Regions from separate parts of the Homo sapiens genome. Here region 1 is linked to region 2. Evidence: promoter capture Hi-C in 16 types of primary human blood cells and fetal thymus (Javierre and others, 2016). All regions are on one chromosome and are shown on one strand. Each heading gives the region's core, a stretch centred on a gene start or on the middle of the fragment in contact. The rest is flanking DNA. Distances are from core to core; before and after follow the strand shown. Region 1 overlaps LOC107987016 (a long non-coding RNA gene). Region 2 holds the start of TTLL11 (tubulin tyrosine ligase like 11).

Region 1 (4,816 bases), core at 1,634-4,133, 540 kb after region 2:
AGGAGGAGACCTCAGAGACAGCAGTGACCTGGAAGCCATGGGAGGAGGGCTTTCAGCAAGGAGGGCATGGCCAGCTGGGTCAGGCAAGGCTGAGCAGCTGTATGTGCTGAGGACTGACCGCTGTCCCAAGATTTGGCAACAAGGAGACAGATGATAAGCAACAGCAACACAGTGTGATGAGGGCAGAGACCAGGGAAGCCCAGGTGACCATGGGAGCCCCAAGGAGGGGCACCCAATCAGGGAGGACTTCCTGGAAGAAGGGATGTCTAAGCAGAAACCTGAGGGGTGCACACACATTCCCCAGGTAAAAATGGGGAGGCCAGGCTGAGGGAACAGCACAGACAGAGGCCAGGAGCAGAGAGCAGGCACAGCTCATTTGGGGAACTGAAAGTAAATAAGCCTGGCTGTGATATGGGGCTCAGGAGGGCTTAGGGGTGGGCGAGGGTGTTATTCCTAGAACCCTGGAGAGATCAGCAAAGCAGATGGTGGGGTCCTCAATTAGAGACCAGACTTTGGTGATGGGTGGGTGATGGTAGAGGGAGGAAAGTAGGCTGGTGGCTGGAGAGATGGTGGAGCCATTCCTGAGATGGGGAACCAGGAAGGGAAGCGATTTGAGGAAGATGAGAATTCAGATGACTTTAGGATGCTGGAGGACATTTGAGGCGATATCCATCATCAGCTGGGCATGCAGGCTGGGCATCGAGTCTGGGAGGCGACCGCGTGCACAGGGAGGAGGCCAGACAGGGCTGGGTGAAGGGACACACACACTCATCTCTTTCTGGTGCCGCTTGAGGTCAGCCTGTGTCCAGCCACCCTCTGGGTGCTGGGGAGGGGCCTGGCAACCACCAGTCATTGTGGTTTGTCTCTCCAGACAGCAGGAGTCCAAGGGAAGCCCAGTGGTTCCTTAGACAGGCTGTGGTAACTGTGCCTCGTCCCTGCCACCTCCACCTACCCAGAGGCCACCGAGTGTCTTTGCACACCCCTCAAGCACCCACCACCAGGAGAGGTATGGTCACGAACATTCGCTCATGGCACAGCAATGTATGGAGCACCTGCTGAGTGCTGCATGGTCCTGGCCCTGAGAGAGCAGTAATGACCCAGGAAGACAGACCCCTGCCCTCCTGAGGCCACCGTCCAATGAAAGAGGCAGGCAATAAACCCATCATTAGAATCAAGTGTGAAGCCTGGGCGTGGTGGCTCACGCCTGTAATCCCAACACTTTGGGAGGCCAAGGCAGGAGGATCAGTTGAGGTCAGGAGTTCGAGACCAGCCTGGCCAACATGGCAAAACCTCGTCTCTACTAAAAATACAAAAATTAACCGGTGTGCACCTGTAATCCCAGCTACTTGGGAGGCTGAGGCAGGAGAATCGCTTGAACCTGGGAGGCAGAGGTTGCAGTGAGCAGAGATCGTACCACTGCACTCCAGCTTAGGTGACACAGCGAGACTCCATGTGATGTTGAGAAAGGGAAGCCTGGGGGACCTTTGGGGGCTGGGCGGCAGGGGGGTGCTTCCGGGAGGAGGCAACATTTAAACTATAGGTCTGAAGGATGAGTCAGAGTTAGCCAAGAAGAAAAAGGAGTGAAAAGGTGTTTGAGTGAATGGGAATGGCATGTGGGAACCTCAGAGGTAAGAAAGTGCCTGACAGGTTTAAGGGAATGAAGGGATTAAGTGAGATGGAGCATTGGGTGTTGGCGGTGGTAAGGAACCTCAGGAGTCAGGCTTAGGGACTTGGACCTTCTCCTGAGGGCGATAGGGAGCCATTGCGTGTCTTAAGCAGGGAGTGGCTTGCTCAGATTTGCATGTGGGAGAATTCAGAGACAGATCAGAAACACTCAACCTCAGCCCAGAGGGGCCCAGGCAAGACCCCCCTCTCCCTCCTCTGTAGTTCCCTTGACGCGTGAGGTGGGTCAACACGGCTTGCACTCCCCCAAGGACCCGAACCTAAGGTCCTCTGGAGGCAGGCCCCAAGCCTGTCCTAACAAGTGCCGTGAGAGCCCTCCAGGCCTGCTCTGGGAATCCAGTCTTGTCGCCAGGAGACACGAGCCCATTTGACTCCGGTGGGGGGAGGTGGGCTGGGCGGCACCACCGCGTGAATGCTCCGGAGCTACCCACGGAGGCGACTGACTGGCTGCCAGCGTGCGCTCCGGATGCCACCTGGTAAGGCTGTCGGCGGGAGGCCAAAGAAATCAATCAGGTCCCGAAGACACGCCGCCCCCTCCCTGCCACAACAGTCCCCTGCCCTCGGAGCCTGGAGAGGCTGGGCTGTCCCCGCAGCGCCACCGTGTGGGCGAGGTGGTCACGACGGCAGGTGGTCGGGGCGCTCAGCTGGAGGTGCTGGTGCTGGGGAGAGCGGAGGACACCGCGGGATCGGCAGGCGTTGGGGACCCCACGGCAGCCATCGATCCTATTCTCATCACATAGTTTCAAATTAATTTTTTCAAAACGGAAACATATTTGCGGCCTGTTTGTGACTTGTAATTATTAAGTAATAATATACTTCCTGAAAACAACATGCAAACTCCATGGACTATAGAAAAAGGCAGGCATGGGCAGCTTCCCTGCAGAATTCCATCCCACCACAACCTCTGATTGCATTTTGGCAAACAGGCTTCAGATTATTTTTCTGGCTTCTTTTTTTTTTAAGTCAGGGTCTAGCTCTGTCGCCCAGGCTGGAGTGCAGCGGAGCGGTCATGGCTCACTGCAGCCTCCACTTGCCTGGGTCAACCGATCCGCCCACCTCAGTCTCTCAAGTAACTGGTACTACAGGCACGCACCACCATATGTAGGTAGTTTTTTCATTATTATTTTTGTAGAGACAGGGTCCCACTCTGTTGCCCAGGCTGGTCTCAAACTCCTGAGGTCAAGCAGTCCTCCTGCCTCAGCCTCCCAAAGTGCTGGGATTACAAGCATGAGCCACCATGCCCAGCCCAGATTTTCTTCAACAGAAAGAATATATGTATATGTATATATATATATATATATATATTCACACACACACAAATGAGGTCATATTGCATATGCCTAATGTTCTGCCACTTGCTTTGCTTTTTAAACATTTTTATCAACTGTGGAGTTCGGAGAAAAGAATATTTATTTAGATTGGGCTTGGTGGCTCACACCTGTAATCCCAGCACTTTGGGAGGCCGAGGTGGGCGGATCATGAGGTCAGGAGATCGAGACCATCCTGGCCAACATGGTGAAACCCCATCTCTACTAAAAATACAAAAATTAGCTGGGCATGGTGTCATGTGCCCATCATCCCAGCTACTCGGGAGGCTGAGGCAGGAGAATTGCTTGAATCAGGGAGTCGGAGGTTGCAGTGAGTGAGCTGAGATCGCCCCACTGCATTCCAGCCTGGCAACACAGCAAGACTCCATCTGGAAAAAAAAAATTTATTTAATATACGTGCAGTATATGAATCAGGTTGAAGTGGGACACTGTGTGCCCACCGTCCAATTTAAGAACATTTTAATTACCCTGAAGTTTCTTTTAAAAATATATTTTTCCCTCCTTTCTCACCTTATTATGGATTATATGGGTTTTTTTGTTTGTTTTGGTGGGTTTTTTTTTTTTTTTTTTGGACAAAGTCTTGCTCTATCACCCAGGCTACAGTGCAGTGGTGCGATCTCGCTCACTGCAACCTCCGTCTCCCAGGTTCAAGCGATTCTCGTGCCTCAGCCTCCTGAGTAGCTGGGATTACAGGCACCCATCATCACGCCTAGCTAGTTTTTGTGTTTTCAGTAGAGACGGAATTTCACTATGTTGGCCAGGCTGGTCTTGAACTTCTGACCTCAAGTGATCCGCCCACCTCGGCCTCCCAAAGTGCAGGGATTACAGGCGTGAGCCACCAAGCCCAGACTGATACAGTACTTTTAATTAATCCATGGCATTGCTTTATTAATTTGTTAGTACTCCTTTCTTTTAGTGGTTATCCTAAAGATTATAATGCGTATCCTTGACTTATTAAAGTCTGCTACAGACAAACTCTCACTGCTCGTAGGGAAATGCAGGAAGTTTAGACCACTTAAAACTCCATTTACCCCCTCCTGACTTGGATGCTATTGTCATCTGTTACCATCTGCTATTTGAATCCTTTATATATTTCAAACTCCACAAGACCTAATTATTATTGTTTTATACAGACAATATTTGTTTAGATTAACCAAATATTTTCTCTCTCCATTGGCCTTCATTTCCTCCCAAATCTCCAAGTTTCCATCTGGGATCCATTTTCTCCTGCCTGAAAATCACCCTTTGCTAATTCTTTGATGGGGACGTGCTGGTGATAAATTCTTTCCATTTTTATTTGTATGAAATGTCTCAGTTTCACTTGAATTTAAAAAAAAATTTTCTTTTTCTTTTTATAAAATCAGATCTTCTAGAAGAGGCCACCTTTGTTTTTGAAGAGTATTTTTTGCTGGGTACGTTGGTGTAGGCTGGCAAGAGAAGGCAAGAAAAGAGAGAAAAATAACCGTGTAAGTGGGACAAATAGAAAACAAACAGTAAGACCAGTGGCCTAGACCAGGCACAGTGGCTTACACTTGTAATTTCAGCAATTTGGGAGGCCGAGGCAGGTGGATCACCTGAGGTCATGAGTTCAAGACCAGCGTGGCCAACATGGCGAAACCCTGTCTCTACTAAAAATACAAAAATTAGCCGGGCGTGGTGGCACAAGCCTGTAGTCCCAGCTACTTGGGAGGCTGAGGCAGAATTGCTTGAATCTGGGAGGCGGAGGTTGCAGTGAGCCTAGATCACGCCACTGCACTCCAGCTTGGGTGACAGAGCAAGACCCTATCTCAAACAAAAACAAAAAC
Region 2 (4,570 bases), core at 1,238-3,737:
TGCTGAGATCAAGGACACCAGGAGGAGGGACAGGATTTGGGGGGTAGGTTTGTGGAGAGAAATGGGGGGACAGTGAGGCCTTCTTACTGATACCACGGACAGCTCCAAGAATTTCCAGAGGACTTGCATCAGACTCTATGAGTGGTTCTTGCCTCCGCTGCCTTAGAATCAGCGGAGGAGCTAATTTAACATGCAGATTCCCAGGTCCACCCAGATGTGCTGCATCACAGTCTCTGGGGGTGGGGTCCAGGAGCCTGCATTTTAAATAAACACCCCGGGTTGTTCCCATGCAAGTGGCCAGACGACCATGCTTACAGAAACTCTGAAACAAAGTCATGAAGGGAACAGATGCGAGCGCCCTCTGCTGCTAAAAAGGAGGTTTGGATCTCTTAAGTTTATGACTTGGACATTTCAAGGCAGTTTATTCAGCAAGTGAAACCCCTGGACTAAAGCAAAGAAACAAGACACCTGGAGAGATGAGAGAGGAAGAGGGGCCACGTTCCTTGACAACTTCTGTGTTTCTTTCACCCTGTAGTGTCGAGCGAGGCAAAGTTCCCCTGTGTGCAGTCGTGGCCGCTGTGGTCAGTCTGGGGTGCTGTTACACCTTCTCAACCCCACTTCCTAAAAAAACAAATGCGGCTCCCTCAGGTGGGAGGGGAGAGCTTTCTCCTTGGTTTGGCTTTAAAATGATGGCAACTCCCAAAAATGGAAAGCAGGGGCTCAAACAGGTATTTGTATACCAATGTTAACCGACATTCTTCACAATAGCCAAAAGGTGGAAACAACCTAAGTCCATTGACAGATGAATGGATAAAAACGAGGTGGTGTATGCACACGACGAAATATTTTTCAGTCTTAAAAATGAGTGAAATTTGGACTCATGCTACAACATGGAGAAACCTTGAGGACATTATGCTACGTGAAATAAGCCAGACAAATACTGTATGATTCCACTGACATGAGGAACCAGGAATAGTCAAATTCATAGTCAGAAAGTAGAAATGGTGGTTCCCAGGGACTAGGAGAGAAGGGAATCCCGACTTATTGTTTCATAGACACAAAGTTTCAGTTTGGTAAGATAAAAGAGTTCCGGAGACCCATAGTGGTGCTGGTTGCACAACAATGTGAGTATACAGAATGCCACTGAATTGTACACTAAAAATGGTTAAAATGGCAAATTTTGTTATATTTTACCACAACAAAAAAAGTGATATAAGTAAAAGCAGTCAGGCTGGACGTGGTGGCTCACGCTTGTAATCTCAGCACTTTGGGAGGCTGAGGCGGGTGGATCATCTGAGGTCGGGAGTTAGAGACCAGCCTGGCCAAGATGGTGAAACCCCGTCTATACTAAAAATACAAAAAATTAGCCGGGCATGGTGGCCGGCTCCTGCAATCCCAGCTACTCACAAGGCTGAGGCAGGAGAATTGCTTGAAGCCGGGAGGCGGAGGCTGCAATGAGCCGAGATCACACCATTGCATCCCAGCCTGGGCGACAAGAGCGAAACTCTGTAACAACATCAACAACAACAACAAAACAAAAACAAAAACAAAAAAGAAAACAAGAGACGCGGTGGTTCTGCTTGTAATCCTAGTACTTTGGGAGGCCGAGGCTGGCAGATTACCTGAGGTCAGGAGTTTGAGAACAGCCTCGGCAACATGGCGAAACCACGTTTCTACGAGAAACACAAAACTTAGCCGGGAGTGGTGGTACATTCGTGTAGTCTCAGCTACTCGGGAGGTTGGGGTGGGAGGATCCCTTGAGCTCTGGAAGTTGAGGCTGCTGCAGTGAGCCGGGATCGCGCCACTGCACTCCAGCCTGGGCGACAGAGAGAGACCCTGTCTAAAAAAAAAAAAAAAAAAGAAAAAAAGAAAAGAAAAAGAAAAAATCGTTAATATCCTCAACTCGAGTGGGAATCTATAGGGGGCTTACCCATGCCCATGACTTCCCCATCCCATCGGGAGCTCCCTGAGAACAGGGAAAAGTGCCTCCCCTCTTATCTGGGGGCGCTCAAAGGACCAGCAGAGGGTTTCTTCAGCGGAACACTCTCTGCTCCCCTAGGGCCTGGGCTGCTCACATCCATCGCACTGAGGAGGGTCCCATCCATTGCACTGAGGAGGGTCCCATCCATTGCACTGAGGAGGGTCCCACTGGGGGGCTCCTCCTCCGTCCTATCGAGAGTTATCCCAGCGAGTGTTGGCGGGGACTGAGCCTCCTGCTTGAGGTAGTTGTTTTTACTCCCAGTCCCCAGGCTCACGAGCCCCACGCGCGCTCAATCTGCCCTCCCGCTTCTCCTCGCCACTCCGAGTTCTGCGCCCTCGAGATCCAGCGCATCCGCGGGGTGGGCGGGTCCTGGCGGCTCTTTGCCCTCTTCCAACATGGCCGCCGCTGCCTCTGTGACAGGCAGGGTCACGTGGGCAGCCTCGCCTATGAGGTCGCTGGGGCTCGGCCGGCGATTGTCCCTTCCCGGACCCCGTCTCGATGCGGTGACTGCCGCTGTCAACCCGAGCCTGAGCGATCATGGCAACGGGCTCGGGCGGGGAACGCGTGGCAGCGGCTGCAGCGGCGGCAGTTTGGTGGCGGACTGGGGCGGCGGAGCGGCGGCGGCGGCGGCGGTGGCACTGGCACTGGCCCCGGCCCTGAGCACCATGCGGCGGGGCAGCTCCGAGAGCGAGCTGGCGGCCCGGTGGGAGGCGGAGGCGGTGGCTGCGGCCAAAGCGGCGGCCAAAGCTGAGGCCGAGGCCACAGCGGAGACGGTGGCGGAACAGGTCCGCGTGGACGCGGGCGCGGCCGGGGAACCGGAGTGCAAGGCAGGGGAGGAGCAGCCCAAGGTCCTGGCCCCGGCCCCGGCGCAGCCCAGTGCGGCTGAGGAGGGGAACACCCAGGTCCTTCAGCGGCCGCCGCCCACGCTGCCCCCGTCCAAGCCGAAGCCGGTGCAGGGCCTCTGCCCGCACGGGAAGCCCCGGGACAAGGGCCGAAGCTGCAAGCGGAGCTCGGGCCACGGTTCCGGCGAGAACGGCTCCCAGCGGCCGGTCACCGTGGACAGCTCCAAGGCCAGGACCTCCCTGGATGCCCTGAAGATCAGCATCCGCCAGCTCAAGTGGAAGGAGGTGAGGCCCGGCCCGACCCGGCCGCGTGGGCACAGTGGGGTGGACAGGACGACCTCAGAGGTCTCGGCACGGCCCAGGTCAGGTCGGCGGGCGAGGGCTGAGCTCCTGCGGTGCACCACGCTCGGGCCTGCTTGTCAGCCGCAAAGTGCTCATCCTTCAAGGCCTACCCCCCAAAATCACTTCCTCCAAGAGGGCCCCCCAGACCCCTCCAGGTCAAGTTAGCCACTCACTCCTCTGCCTCCCTGCAGCTCTTTTTATGTCTCAGCCATCAGCATTTGCCTCTGCTTGTAGATATGTGTACGTCTGTCTCCTCCACCAGCTTGTAAGCCCCTGGGGCCCCGGACCCGCTCTCTCACTTCTTCATTGAAGTTATATTTGTTTAGCACTTGCTGTGTGACTCTTGGGCAGAGGAACACTTTTTATTTTGGAGGCAGACAGGCCTAGGGTCTCACTACACTTTGCTACTTAGCTGTGTGACCTTGAGTAAGTTGCTTCACCTCTTCAGCCTATTACCTTCTCTGTAAAGTGAGGCCAATTATACTTATCTCATCATCTTGTTAGCATTAGAAGACTCACTACTTAGTGTTTTATAGCACAAGTCTGCAATAAATGGTAACTTACGTTACCACCTTCTCCTTTCTCTCTTCTTCCACCATCATCACCATCACCACCACCAGCACCACCACTGTCCTCATGATCAGTGGTATAAAATCAGGCACTGTATTTTATATTCCAGGCTTGGCTTACGGCATGTGTCAGTAAGCAGTGAATGAAAGGGTGAATGAATACATGAGTTATCATCCCTGAGCCCATTTTAGACTGGCAGGGGATGGAATGTAGCACCAGTGACTCTAGAGGTGTCTGTTGCAATTGGCTACGTGGATAAAGCCATTTGACTTTATTTGCAGCATATAAGGTATTTAATGTGCTTTCAGGAGTGTCAGGAGTTTGATTAAGGATAGCTGAGTGTGGACACAGCCAGTGGTAACAGGGATCTGCTGCGGGTAACAGAGGACTCAGGTTCTTAGCCCTGTGCCTTGGCTATGGTAGATGCTCGGTAATGGTTTCATTAAGTTGGAACATACAGAGAGATGGCCACAGAAAGGACTGATGTGGTCAGAGGGTTGATGTCCCAATAGGAAAAAGTGCATTTGGTTTGGAGGGAAGTCAAGGATCAGGCAGAACCGACTTCCAGGTGGATAGGGTGTAGCCGTTGGGGAAGTTTGACTCCAAGTGTCTGGGCCCCCAGCCTTGGGGCTTGGGATTCAGAGGGGAACTTTCATGCTGGGGAAACTTGGGGAAAACAAAGGCAGGCTCTCAGTTCTAAAGTATCTGGGTTTCTAGGCAGGGCCCCAGGTCCAGGCCAGAGATATGAGGGCTAGAAAAGGTACAACTGGACAACTTGTCAGTGCCGTGGTCTTAATGAAGGGAGAATCCAGCAAATAAAACCAGGCTATGGAGT

Evidence for each region. The method cuts DNA at HindIII sites, captures the fragments that hold promoters and counts their contacts. A CHiCAGO score of 5 or more calls a contact.
Region 1: a fragment that was not itself captured here is called in contact with the fragment with the promoter of TTLL11 in region 2 in 1 of 17 cell types (endothelial precursors); the score reaches 7.2 in endothelial precursors.

What each region holds. Positions count from the first base shown.
Region 1 is chr9:121,548,122-121,552,937 of GRCh38, reverse strand. The region is part of intron 1 of LOC107987016 (a long non-coding RNA gene); the gene reads left to right. Among named protein-coding and RNA genes, the nearest start is that of GGTA1, 51 kb to the right of the region's middle. The HindIII fragment of the contact is 6,533 bases long and covers 1-4,816 here.
Region 2 is chr9:122,091,225-122,095,794 of GRCh38, reverse strand. TTLL11 (tubulin tyrosine ligase like 11) reads left to right here and starts at 2,487. Exons shown (of 9, transcript NM_001139442.2): 1 at 2,487-3,108. The coding sequence starts at 2,647. LOC124902263 (a long non-coding RNA gene) reads right to left here and starts at 1,663. Exons shown (of 2, transcript XR_007061757.1): 1 at 1,623-1,663; 2 at 395-621. LOC124902262 (a long non-coding RNA gene) reads right to left here. Exons shown (of 3, transcript XR_007061755.1): 3 at 4,516-4,570. RefSeq lists enhancers at 2,307-2,496, 2,246-2,959 and a silencer at 2,847-2,896. The HindIII fragment of the contact is 9,416 bases long and covers 1-4,570 here.